Linked DNA regions of Homo sapiens: region 1 is linked to region 2. Evidence: promoter capture Hi-C in human tissues and cell types (Jung and others, 2019). All regions are on one chromosome and are shown on one strand. Each heading gives the region's core, a stretch centred on a gene start or on the middle of the fragment in contact. The rest is flanking DNA. Distances are from core to core; before and after follow the strand shown.

Evidence for each region. Contacts are between HindIII fragments. The study calls those that stand out against the background at their distance.
Region 1: a fragment that was not itself captured here is called in contact with the fragment with the promoter of DSPP in region 2 in 1 of the 25 tissues and cell types used here (adrenal gland).

The regions. Positions count from the first base shown.
Region 1 is chr4:87,555,074-87,562,315 of GRCh38, reverse strand. No RefSeq gene overlaps it. Among named protein-coding and RNA genes, the nearest start is that of SPARCL1, 29 kb to the right of the region's middle. The HindIII fragment of the contact is 3,080 bases long and covers 691-3,770 here.
Region 2 is chr4:87,604,811-87,611,718 of GRCh38, reverse strand. It overlaps DSPP (dentin sialophosphoprotein), which reads right to left and starts at 3,190. Exons shown (of 5, transcript NM_014208.3): 1 at 3,099-3,190; 2 at 760-838. The coding sequence starts at 810. All of the region lies in intron 3 of DMP1-AS1 (DMP1 and DSPP antisense RNA 1), which reads left to right. The HindIII fragment of the contact is 7,231 bases long and covers 1-3,946 here.

The DNA.
Region 1 (7,242 bases), core at 981-3,480, 48 kb after region 2:
TTGCCAATTTACTATGTTTAAAATAGTATCTCATTGTCATCCTGATTTTTGGTTATCCATTTCACTGATCACTAATGAACTTGAGTATCTCTTTGTAGGTTTATTGGCCATATGTTTTATCTCTTCTGTGAGCTTCCTATTCATGGCTTTTGTCCATTTTTAAATCACTGGTATGGCCATTCTTTATTAGCTTACAGATGTCCTTTAGGTCCTTTAGATATTATTGCTATCAATTCTTTGCCAGGGTGTCATGAATATTTTGTCTCAGTTTATTTTTCCACTTTCTTCAAAATATCTTTTAATATTCAGACATTTTCAGTTTTAATATATTAAATTTATTGTCAGAGACATCTGCTGTCATAGAAGTTTAAGGGATAGCCTTGAAGGGTGGTGGTAAGAGAAATTTTCCACATGATTAGAGCTTCAAGCTGGGTACCTGATCATCCACTTTGTACAAAAAAGGAAGTGATCCAAGATTAAAATATACATGGACTTATGGACAGTGGCCAACGCATGGCCTGCTGGTCAGGGACTGTACTAGTTTCACTGAGCTGCCATGGAAATGACCACAAATTGAGCAGCTTCAGTTTACTCCCTCTTGGCTGGGTACAGTGATTCACTCCTATAATTCCAGAGCTTTGGGAGGCCAAGGCAGGAGGATCTCTTGAGGCCAGGAGTTCAAGATCAGCCTGGGCAATGTAGCAAGACTCTGTCTCTACAAAAAAAATAAAAATAATTTACTCCCTCATGGTTTAGGAGGCCAGAAGTCTGAAATCAAGTTGTCAGCAGGGTTGGTTTTTCTGGAGGCTCCAAGGAAGAAAGCATCCCGGGCCTCTCTCCTAGCTTCTGGTGATTGCTGGCAATTCTTGGTGTTCCTTGACTTGCAGACTCATCATTCCAATTTCTGCCACTGTTGTCATATCACCTTCTTCCCTATGGAGCTCTCTTGTGCTCTCCTCTTCTTATAAAAACACAAGTCAAGATATGTTCAGGACGATTCCAAGATGTTTCATCTCAAGATTTTTAACCAATTGCATCTGCAAAGACACTATTTTCAAATAAGGTCACATTCTGAGGTTTGAGGTGGACATGAATTTTGGGGGGACACTGTTCAACCCACCACAGGGGCTTAAAAAAGGAAAAGATTGGAAAATCTAGAAAAAGGAGATGTTGGAAATAGACATGCAGTTGGACATTAAAGAACAAGCATGAAGAATGAAGAGTTTCATGAGACATGTTAACACCCACCAAAGAGTGCCAACATGGAAGGAACACCAAACAGCCAGTCATAGACAAAATGACTCAGCCAACTCACATCAGTCAGCCTCTGTCATCAGCAACCCCAATCAGATGGCCAAGTGGATGAAGTAACCATCATGGCAGGGAGAGAGGCTATGCATATGTCCAACCTAGGTTCCCATTCATCAAGGTTGATTTAGCTGCTACTCCTGCCAAACGTACAACCTGCGAGCAAGAGAGACTAGTGCTGAGTGCTCCATACAGCATCACACTCTTTGGCCTCTTGTTTTCCTCATTCGACAATAATTTATGGAAATTCCTGCAAATTATTTGGATGCCCTCTAATTCATTATTTTTAATGGCCACATAATAGTCCATGGCATTCCAAAGCTTTTCCTACAACGGCCTCCTTTCATGTTATGACATCCTGTCAACTTCCTCTGATGGTAGGAAAATGGAACAAGTTGCCAAGAGCAATTGACTATGAGGATACCTGAGAAGATCCTGTCTGACTTGTCTTCTGCCAGTAACATACTTCCTCTCCTCCTGCTCTCATTTCACATCATACAGCAAAAGTTAACAGTTCAGAGCTGAATTTCTACAACTGATAAATTTAATTCTGGGAATTGAGTTATAACGTTAAAATCTATTTCTGGCTACAAGCTAATAAAGCTACTGTTCTCTCAAATAAATGATAAAAACAGAGAAACTCTTTTAAGGACTTTCCAGGAGACTTAGCAGAAAGCTAATAATATTTAAAAAGCTGCAAATACATTCTCAGAGTCACTGTAAATAGAAGAAAGTCAACAGCAAGTATCTAAAACTCTGGTGCAAAATTTCATGTAGCCAGGCGTGGTGGCTCATGCCTCTAATCTCAGCACTTAGGCTGAGGCAGGCAGATCGCCTGAGGTCAGGAGTTCGAGATTAGCCTGGCCAACATGGTGAAACCCCATCTCTACTAAAAATACAAAAATTAGCCGGGCATAGTGGCAGGCGCCTGTAATTCCAGCTACTCACGAGGCTGAGGCAGGAGAATCACTTGAACCGGGGAGGTGGAGGTTGCAGTGAGCCGAGATTGTGCCATTGCACTCCAGCCTGGGTGACAAGAGCAAAACTCTGTCTCAAAAAAAAAAAAAAAAAAGAGAAAGAAAAAGAAAAAGAAGAAAGAAAAGATAAAAGAAAAGTTCATGTAGGTCCTTTTGAGGATCATCATATATCCACACATTTTTCTTAATAATGAGCTAAAATTGATCTAGAAAGGGGTAATGGAAATGGCAAAAGAGAACCTGTCTACCTTCCAATTGTCCTCAGAAAAGCAGCAGCTGCCGTGGGATGCCCTTATATGGCATTTGTTTCCTGTTGTCCCTTGAGTGAAGTCTGCAGGGACACACTAGGGCAACTGGTACTTGCCATTTCCTGGAAGACAACCACAGAGCCGACTCTATAATTACCCGGAGGCCCTGCCTAGGTACCACAGTAGTAATCAGGCATCGGTCACCGGAAGGAGAGACGAATTGGGGCTCTGGATAGATATGCTGAACACAGACAGTGAACCATCCAAACCCCATTTGTACAGAGCCTATCAAGAAAGCTTTGCCTCCACAGATGCTACACAAAACATTGTGTACATGCTACACAAGGCAATGGACAACCACCACAAACTGCTCTGCAGTTCAAAATATCTGAATGAGAGCAAAATTTTATGAATGCAAATAAATAGTGCTGGAGTATCTAGAGATGCAGTTTGCTTTGGCAACAAATCCTGTGTCTTGTCTATCTGGATCTCAGATCAAAAAATCATGACGCCACCAGCTAACTGCCAGTTTTAAGTGACTGCTAGGATGAGTCCTCTAACAATTTCATTTCTCTGCAATGCAGCAAACAGTATATTAGCTAGGGTTAAATCAGCATCTGTGATTTCATAACAAACCAACGAATTCTAATACCATGTCTAAATTATGTGGCTATTTGTAATCACTTCCCTTGGAAGGTATAACCTTGATTGTAACAAATAATGTATCAGATCACCTTCTAAAATACAACTCCTTTTCTTGATTAAAAACTAAATGATTTCACATGATTTGATTTTTATTGTCTCAAGAAATTTCCACAATCTTTTAAGAAGTGGTTTTCAAACTTTATCCCGGGAAATCTTTCTTCAGAAGAAATATTCCCAGAGGGACAGACATATAAAAGCAGAACTCTTTTAATTTGCAGTTTGGCATTTTCCCTCCTATTGCATTGCTCCCTTGTAAAGAAAGAAAGAAATCTGTCATGGCTTATGTGTTAATGTAGTCATTATTTTTAATTTATTGAAATAATTATAAACTCAAGAAAAATTGCAAAAAATAGTACAGAAAGGTCCTGCGGGCCCTTCCCCCAGTTTCCCCCAAAGGTAACATCTTACTTAAGTATAATGCATTATCAAAACCAGGAATACTACTAACTAGACTATAGACTACTAAAATTCCATTGGTTTTCACATGCAGTCATTGTTTTGCATAGTTCTATGAAATGTTATCTCACGTATAGATTCCATCACCACAAAGGAGCTCTGTTGTGATACCCCTTTATAGCCGCACCCGCTCTCCATCCTCATCCTTAATCCTTGGCAACCACTGATCTGTCTCCATTACCTGATCTTTAAAAATGTTACCATTTCAAGAATGTGATATACGTGGAATCATATCTTATGTAACCCATTGAGACTGGCATTTTTCACTTAGCATAATACCCTTAAGATCTATCCAAGCTGACGTGCTATATGAATACTTCACCCCTTTATATTTCAGCATAGAATTCCATTGTATAGATTTACCTCAGTTTCTTTATCCATCCACCTTTTGAAGGACACTTGGGTTGTTTCCACCTAGAGTTATTGCAAATAAAGCCGCAGAAAATATTTGTGTACAGGTTTTTGTGTGAACATAAGTTTTCATTTCTCTAGGATAAATGCCCAAGATTGCATATGCTAGAATGTATGGTAAGTAATGTTTAATTTTATATGAAACTGCCAAACTCTTTTCCAGAGTAGATGCCCCAATTTATGAGAGATCTCAGTATGAGAGATCTAAGTATCTCTGCATTCTCAACAGCATTTAATATTATCAATATTTTTTCCCATGCTACTATGTATGTAGAGGAGAAATCGTTTATTTTTAAGAGCATTACCTTTCCTTTCTTTGCATGCCCAATTTAAAATTGAGAACTATTTAAATTAAAATAGTGCTTCCTAAACATAAAGTTAGTATAAGGTAAATGTGATAATTTGAACTCAGGAATGGCTATTTCAAACTGACTCTCAGTGAATGGCTTACACTGAGGTCAATGATCTGCTCCCAGCTTTGGGGACTAGGAGCTATTTTATTCATTGACCTAGAGATAGAAGAATATACAGGCATTGAGCCATGCCAAACTCCCAAGAGATGTATCTACAAGCTAGCATATCAAGTATAACTATATCTGACAAAGCTTGCCCAGGGGAAGGGTACTCATTTCCTCTGGCTTGGTGGATCACCCAAGAGCACAAACCTCAGAGCAAATATTTGCAGAAGGAAAGTACAGGACGTGGGATGTTCTTACAGGCATATTTATGAAGCTAAGCCGGCTGGATAGAAAGCTCCCTTCATTTTAGGTATTCCCTAATGAATCACAATCACAGTCTATGAAGCAAAATCATTCTTTGGCCATTGACCATGCTACAGAAAAAGACCCACTATTAATCCCCTTTCTATAAAAGGGTTACTTACCTTCTTCTAAAGGTAACATTGCAACATGAGCCTTCTTCTTTCAAGTTCCATTAACATGCTAATTCCCAAGTGTATTAATTTTCATTGATTATATTTTAAAATGCTGACTTCCTAGAGATGCTGTGGACCAACTCTCACAGAGCAGAAAACTACCTCTAAATTATAGGATAATTCTAAACTGGTAAATAACCAATTGCAACCTTAGATTGAATTTTTTTAAAGCTTGTTTTGAAATGTGAAAGCAATACATGTCCCGAGTAAATCAGACTTAGGAGTCCTCAGCATGTGATTGCACTGACCACAGAGGTAGTTTTTACTCTAAATTTTAGGGTCTATAATACTTTGATGTCTACACCACTCTATCCATGGACAGAGTATTTTAAAACCCTAAGTACAGGCTATGTAGATGATCACATTGCTACTTGTTAGAGTTCTAATCATACAAAATAGCATTTAACCAAAAACCCAAAAGAGTTTTGGTAATTGATAACATTGCAAATATAACTGTGCATCACCACTGATCACTAGAGCTAGACCTTCATTATGGGACAAAGAACTACGAGAAAAAGATTTGGAAAATACTTGGAAACTCAAAACTTAATATGGTTTCTTGAATTTTAATTGGTCTACTTCAAAGGCTAATGTATTTCCTTTCTGAAAATGTCTGCATTACATTCAAACTATTTGAAATTGTCTTTCTTTATTATTGTGGTTGAGTAGAATGCCGGTTTTATTGAGTTAATTTGTCTGTATTTGTTATAGATTAAGCTAAGATATCTCAAAATTCAGTGGCTAATACAAAGTAGAAGTTTATTGCTCTCTCACATGTAACAGTCCATAGATAGACGATCTGAGACTGGGAGGGCATCTCTGCCATGCCCATTACACACCTTCGATCGCTGGCTCTAAAATGGCTGCCCCAGAACCCTCCATCATATCTACCTCTCAGGCAATAAGAAGAAAGAAAATAAGTTTGTGTTACTCATTTATTTCAAGGGCATGATGTAAAACTGGCACACATCACTTCTACTGCTATTCTACTGCCAGGAACTTAGTCATAAGGGCACAGCTACTGCAAGTGAATGTGGGAAATATAGACTCCAGCTGGAAAGCAGCATGCCCAGCTATGACTCAGGAGTTTTGATGCTAAAGAAAAAAGGACAGAACAGATACTGGTAGACAACTCATAGTCTCTCCCACAATGACCAGTTCTTTCTCATTTATAGCCAGCTCTTCATCATCCCTTCCATTATTTTCAGTATATTACCAAGTCCAAGTTCACAATTGAAATAAAGTAGAAAACGGGAACTTTTGCAATCCAGGATCCTGTCTGACTTGTAATTAAGGAACTCTATGGCTGCTTCTAGAGGCAAGAGTCTGAAGTACATTCCCTCCTCTTACTCTAGTATGTTGATGGCATTTACCAGTTCCTGTTGGTAAGTGATTGCACTTCAGGGATAAACAAAGGAATATGGATAGGAAGATGAGGAAAATTGGTTTTAACTATAACAAACAGAAGTCTCCTTGAGAGTAAAATTTATGTTTTTAATTTTTTTCAACTTTCTCACATTGCTTAGTAAATATAGTAGAAGCAGCAGCCATGGTTGTAGTAATAGCGATAGTAGTAGCAGGAATTGTAGTTGTAGACAAAAGTAAGATAAGTTAACCAACCAGGCACAGTGGCTCACGCCTATAATCCCAGGCCTTTGGGAGGCCAAGGCAGGTGGATCACTTGAGCTCAGGAATTCAAGACCAGCCTGGGCAATATGGTGAAACCCCATCTCTACCAAAAATACAAAAAATTAGCCAGGCATGGTGGTGTGAGCCTGTGGTCCCAGCTACTCGGGAGGCTGGAGTGGGAGGATCGCTTGAGATTGAGTGGTGGAGGTTGCAGTGAGCCAAGATTGCACCACTGCACTCCAGCCTGTGTGAAAGAATGACACCCCATCTCAAAAACAAAAGAGTAAGACAAGTTACCACCTTACATCTATTAGGATGGCCACTATCCAAAAAGAAAAAGCCAGAAAATTACAAGTGTTGAGAAGAATGTAGAGTAATTGGAACTCTTATACATTGTTGATGGGAATACATGTAAAAAGGTACATCCACTAGGGAAAACAGTATGGTGGTCCCTCAAAAAGTTAGAGATAAAATTGCTATATGATTACAATTCCATTTCTGAGTAGACACCAAAAATAATTGAAAGTAGGGTCTGAAAGAGATGTTTATATGCCCCTGTTCATAGCTGTATTAT
Region 2 (6,908 bases), core at 1,941-4,440:
CTCTTAAGAGAACAGGAGGCGTGACCAGAGCCTGCACAGAGGCAAAATCAAGTATTACGCTAGTATACTTCTGTGCTCTGCAAGAGCACATTTGAAATACTTGAGAACATTTTCAACTACATAAATACCAAATGTTTGGTATTATGAAAGCATATGAAAATGTTAAACATGATGGCTGGCTAGTAAAATTATAAATGGTTGAATTTTCTCAATTTTTTATTGGTTTTCATCATATATTCCAAATTTTCCACAGTGAGCACATAAATAATAACTCTGAGTGAAAAATTAGTCTCCTATATGTTGAAAAAAAATCTACTTTTTCTTATTATTCTTTCTTGGAAACTTCCTAAACAGCACAGACTTTGTTCGTATTAGAATGAAATTCACAGAGTATGAAGCAAAGATGGACAAAGTCTCCATGACTTCTGGGCATTAAGTGTAAATTAATCTGAATAAATGTTTTAAATAATAATAATCCTTCAGACGAGATATGAGTTTCTATAGAGGAATGAGACGATGAATTGGAGTGGTTTTGTTGAAACCTCACAGATATCACATAAAGCCCTTAGTGCAAATCTAAATGTTTAGACTCAGCCTGTTAAAAAAAATTAAGGAAACATATATACACACACACATATATACACACATGTACATGCACACACACACACACACACACACACACACACACTACATTTTGTATTAATGTTAGGTTAAAAAAGATAACAAAGTGAAGAGGTTTTCTAAGAAAGGCATACTTACTGGAATGGCCCATGCTACTGCCCAAATGCAAAAATATGTAATTATCTTCATTTTCTTTAGGAATAATAATAATCAATGGCTGTATAAAAAAGGAACAGCACAAAATTACTTATAAAGTAAAGGGAAAATCATAGTACTATATTATTTTGATGTGTAAGCATTTGCCCTTTTCCTGGACAAGAAGCATGTATCTAACACGAGAAGACATACGATGGTCCAGAACATACCTGGTGTGGTTATGGGGGCATCACCAGGCTCAGCACTAATGTAGCTTCCTAGATTTTTTTCTGCCTGTGCCAATGAAGGAAAACGCCATAATAGGTACAAAGGGCATAGCTGTAACTTTGTTCTTCTGCAATTCTTGGGTGTAAAAACATCTATTTCTCTTCTGAATAGCTTTAATCAAGTACTAACTAATTCTGCTGAAATTGTGCTTCAAAGGTAAAACACTTGTCATCCTTACTCCAAATCTATAGAATTGAGCTATACCAGACTTTAAGAGAAAGAAATTACTAACATGAGGGAGCCTACGCTAGTGGAAAGAATACGGGGTTTGTATTCAGAGACCTGGGTTCAAATGTTACCCCTGCTACTTGCTGTGTAAGCTTGAGAAATTTAAGTAGGTTTATTATCCCTCCACCTGGAATAATAACAACACCTGCACCTCAGGATTATCCTGAAGTTTGGTAGAATTATCTCTGAGAAGCCCTCTCTGACGCCACTTCAAAGGGTATTTGGTATCTCTTTCCTTTTTATACCAAGGAAGTTTGCACGTCTCACTGGTAACGCATTGCACTGTTTAAAATTGCCTAGTTACTTATGTGTTGCCCTGATTTCCTGTAAGCTCCTGAGGCCCAGGAGAGTGTCTTGGTGATTATTGTATTCCAATGCAAAGCACAGAAAAAAACGTTTTCTGAATGTTGTTGATAAATATTTATGACTATCAGCAATATCTAGCATTGCTTCAGGCACTTTGCAATTTTTGAATAAATGATAGCAATTATTTTATGGGACTTCTAAAATCATGATTCTTCATCCCTGTTAGAATTCAAATTCAGAAATGGTCTAAAACATGTTTCTGATAAGTTGGAATAGACATTTTATAATCTGTGTGAGTAAAAAAATTAATTTATATTGCAAGTTGGATTTCTTGAAGTAATGATAGAAAGGAGAGTTTTACTCCTATTTCATGAACTCCCACCAGATGTATAGATTATAATGCTGCATGTCATAAAATGGCTTTGATTGAATTTAATGGTGGTAGTGAAAATATAATAAAACTTCACTGAATATCAACTGTCATGAGAATTACTGGCGTTTTCTCACAGGAGAGATGACACAGTTCCAGAGCTACTGAGGGGGAAAAAAGTGCTCATTCTTATAGCTGTTCAACAGAAAGCCAAGAACAGCTAGAGCTCCTTCTGAAATGCCATAGATTCAAGTGAGGCTGAGGTGACACCAGGACAAGTATCATGCAGAGCTCTGGGGCACAGATGTTGAAGGCCAGCTGTTTACTAAGCCACAGTTATCCTGTACTTTGCAGTCCCAAGCCTAATCATTACATAGCTCTGCAGAAGGCCCGTCTGCACTGTGATTTGGAAGAGCCTCAGCATACTGGAAAGGTACCTGCAGCCAAGGCCAGAGTGATGCGTGTCCAGTTTCTGAGCTACAGTTCAGAAATCTGACCACTACATCTCTCTTTCAGCTCCACTCCTGAACAATTCCATGATGGTTATCACCGTTTCCAAGGCAGGTGAATGACTTCGAAGACTACAATAAAAATGGCCCAGGTGATCTCAGCATGAAACAAAGACTTCAGAATTTGTGAAGCTCCATCAGATTATTTCATTTATTGTTACTAATGAAATGAGATTTAGCTTCATTTCATTTAGCAATTAGATTTGGCATCATTAGTGATTGCTAAATTTCATTTCATGTGGGACAATAAATAATAAGTAATAGTAAGTAATAAAATACTAAAAAGCAAAGCCTAATTGAAGCCTTGTTTGAAAGCCCAAGGTGGATTTTTGAAATCTGAGTTATCTCATTTTTTATCAAAACTAATCAAAGTGCCCAGATAGTTAATTGTCAAATTTCCACCTCAGTTGGCCAATTTTTCAGTACGAGGTCTTTCTTCTTCCCAATCTATCTCTTCCTTAGGTCGTAATTGTCCGTTATCTTTTATACATACTATCAATATGACAAGTCAAAAAGGAAGCATACAATCTAATCATTAAGGGGTACTCGCTTCTTAAAATCAAACTGGCTTCATCTTTGAAATTCAAAGTTCTTTCTAAATGAATCAGTTGGTTCTGAGTAAAAAGGATATTTCATCTTACCTTAAAAGGCTTCAAAAGGATTTTGAAAATCCAGAATTTCTTATCTTTCTCTTTGAAGACTGAAAGTGGCCCACTGTCCTGGACTTTTGCATGACAATTTTGTACTTGCCGAAATTTAAACTCAGTTTGATAATTTTCTCAACCAATCACTGTTTAGGATCCCTGATATGGGGTTATAAAGTGTCATCGAGTCTATGAAGCACATAATAACTTCCCCACTTCCTTCACTTGGTGATATGTATTTGCTCACTGAACCGTTCGGTTCCAAAAGGACTAGACTTACTTTCACTTAATTAAACAGCTCCTATGAGGCTGTTTCACATCTTAAATATAGAGAATCAGTGTAAGATACCTGAAAAGAGCCACTTAAACTCTGTCACCCTGACATTTCTTGTCTTACCAAGGTTGGCAATCTAAGAAAACTCTAGGTTTCTTTAGTAAATATGACTGCCTATTTAAGACCCCTATCATTCTTGAGGTAGGTATTAAAGTTTCTGTGCTATAATTCAAGAAACTGTCCACATGCAGCAGCCTTGACGTTGCCTGAGGGATCTTTAACAATCTATAAACAGTAACTCCCCTGAAATCTCTCTGATTTAACTGAAATAAGCAGTGACATAAAAGCTTAAAAATCTATCAATTGAGTATTCAAACTACATTTCAAAAACAGACATTGAAAATGTCAAAAGTAGCAAGATGTCCAAAGGTGCATAAAGACAACAGATTTAGCTGTCCATTATCTCTCAATTATCTGTGTTAGCTGCAGAATGCAAAGTAGAAAACTAGACTTTATGTCTAACAAGTTTTGCAACATGAGTGCACCATTCTCTTGAACCCTAGATGTACTATAATGCAGGTAATCCCTAAACTATTTCTTCAATTCATGCATTCAAAAACTTGACCGTCTTTCTCTATATACTTGTTTAGAATTTTCAGGAATATGCCAATTTTTGTGTTACAATATTAAAGAAGGTGAAACACATAAGACCACTAATGCTATATCACTATGCAACAGTGGTATCTCCAGAAACTATATATACAAAAATATATGGTATTTATATACAAATAAAGCTTTATATGTAGGGAAAAAGTAAGGTTAAAAGGAAGTGAATTGAATGGGAAGGAAATTTGCCTTGAAGCTGTTTTCATAGTGAATGCTTTGTTTTTATTCATATAGCATGTTTACTTGGGCAGATTAAAGGGCCTAAGAACTTTTAACAAGGCTCGAGTCACTTATGGGAGTGACACCCTTACCCACACACACATTCATCAGTGGAGGTTGGTGAACTAAACCTGCCTTTCTTTTCCTTAATTTGAATTAACATGAATTATGGTTAGAGATTTCAATAGCCATCTATTAATAATTGAAAGAAAAATATAATGGATATACAACCTTTAAACAGAAGTATCATCCAACTTGATCTAATTGACATTTACAGACGACTTCATCCAACAACAGAAGAATAAACATTCTTTTCAAGTGTACCTGCACCATTTACCAAGATAGAACGTATTCTGAGCCCCAAAATGAATCTCAATAAATTTAAAAGAATTCAAGTCGTACAAATTATGTTTACTGACCACAATGGAAGGCAATCAGAAATCAATAACAAAAGAATTCTGGAAAACCGCAAGTATTTTAAGGCTAAGTGGAACACTCATAAATAGTCAATGGGTGAAAGAAGAAACCAAAAGGGAAATTCAAAATATATGGGATGACTGAAAATGAAAGCATAGCATATCAAAATCTGTGGGATGTCACTAAAGCAGTTATTTAGGATGAAATTATAGCACTAAATAACCATATATGAAGAGAAGAAGTTTTGAAACAATGACCTCATTTTCCACCAAAGAAGGAAAAATTAAGTTCAAAGTATGTAGAGAAAAGGAAATAATAAAGATCAGAACTGAAATTAATTAAATAGAAAACAGAAAAACAATAGAGACAGTCAGTGAAACCAAAGCTGATTCTTTGAGAAGTTCAATAAAATTTAGGAGATTCTTTCCAGACTAATGAGGGAAATAAAGGAGAAGACACAAATGAGCAATATCAGGAATGAGAGAAATGACAATTCTACAGATTTTATAGACATTCTATAAATATTCTATAAGGGATAATAAGGAAATACTAGGAACATCTTTATGTTAATAAATTAAAAACTTAGACAAAGTGGGTAGATTCCTTAAAACCAACAAAGCTCACTCAAGGAAAAATAGATAACTTCAATTGCCCCGTATCTATTAAAGAAATTAAATTCATAGTTTAAAACTTGCCCAGAGAGAAAACTTTGGGCCCAGATGGTTTCACTTGAGAGGCATTGGTTGTTCAGTGGTAGAATTCTTGCTGCCCAAATGGTTTCACTGACAAATTCTATGACGTATTTAAGGAAGGTATCATTCCAATCCTACACAAACTCCTCCAGAAAATTGAGAAGGAGAAAATACTTCACAGCTCATTATATGATGCCAACATTATCCCAATACCAAAACCAAAAATGTTATAAGCATATACTACTACTGACCTATATCCATCATAAATGTTAATACAAAATTTTTAAATATAATGTTAGTGAATCAAACCCAATAATATGTTTTTAAAAGATAATACATGATGAGCAAGTAAAATTTATTCCAGGTGTGCAAGGCTGACTTAACATTTAAAAATTAATCAACGTGGCTGGCGCAGTGGCTCACGCCTGTAATCCCAGCACTTTGGGAGGCCGAGGTGGACGGATCACGAGGTCAGGAGATCGAGACCATCCTGGCTAACACGGTGAAACCCCGTCTCTACTAAAAACACAAAAAATTAGCCGGGCGTGGTGGCAGGCACCTGTAGTCCCAGCTACTCGGTAGGCTGAGGCTGGAGAATGGCGTGAACCTGAGAGGCGGGGCTTGCAGTGAGCCGAGATCACACCACTGCACTCCAGCCTGGGCGACAGAGCGAGACTCCGTCTCAAAAAAAAAAAAAAAAGCAATTTAATTCACCATATTAACAAAGACAGAAAACCACATAATCTCATTGGCAAAGAAAAACATTTCAAAAATCCAACATTCACTTCTGATTTTTAAAATCTCACTAGACAAATAAAACACATTTCAAAAATTGACCATCCATTTCTGATTTTAAAAATCCCATTAGGCAAAGAAGAAACATTTCAAAAATCCAACATTCACTTCTGATTTTAAACACCTCTTTAGGCGGCTGGGCGCAGTGGCTCACCTGTAATCCTAGCACTTTGGGAGGCCGAGGTGGGCGAATAACTTGAGGTCAAGAGTTCGAGACCAGCCTGGCCAACATGATGAAACCCCGTCTCTACTACAAATACAAAAAAAATTTAGCTGGGCGCAGTGGCAGATTCCTGTAATCCCAGCAACTTGGGAGGCTGAGGCATGAGACTTGCTTGAACCCAGGAGGCGGAGATTGCAGTGAGCCGAGATCACACCACTGCACTCCATCCTGGGTGACAGAGCGAGACTCCGTCTCAAAAAAAAAAAAAAAAAAAAAAAAAAAAAAAAAAACTCATTAGGCAAATAAAATACATTTCAAAAATCCAACGTTCACTTCCGATTTTTAAAATCTCATTAAGCAAGGAAGAAACATTTCAAAAATCCAACATTCAGTTCTGATTTAAAAAATAAACAAAAGCTCTCAGCTATCTAAGAATAGAAGGGAACTTCCTCAACCTGATAAAAGGCATCTTTTGGTGCAAAAGTAATTGTGTTTTTTGCAATTACTTTTTTTTTTTTTATACTTTAAGTTTTAGGGTACATGTGCACAACGTGAAGGTTAGTACATATGTATTCATGTGC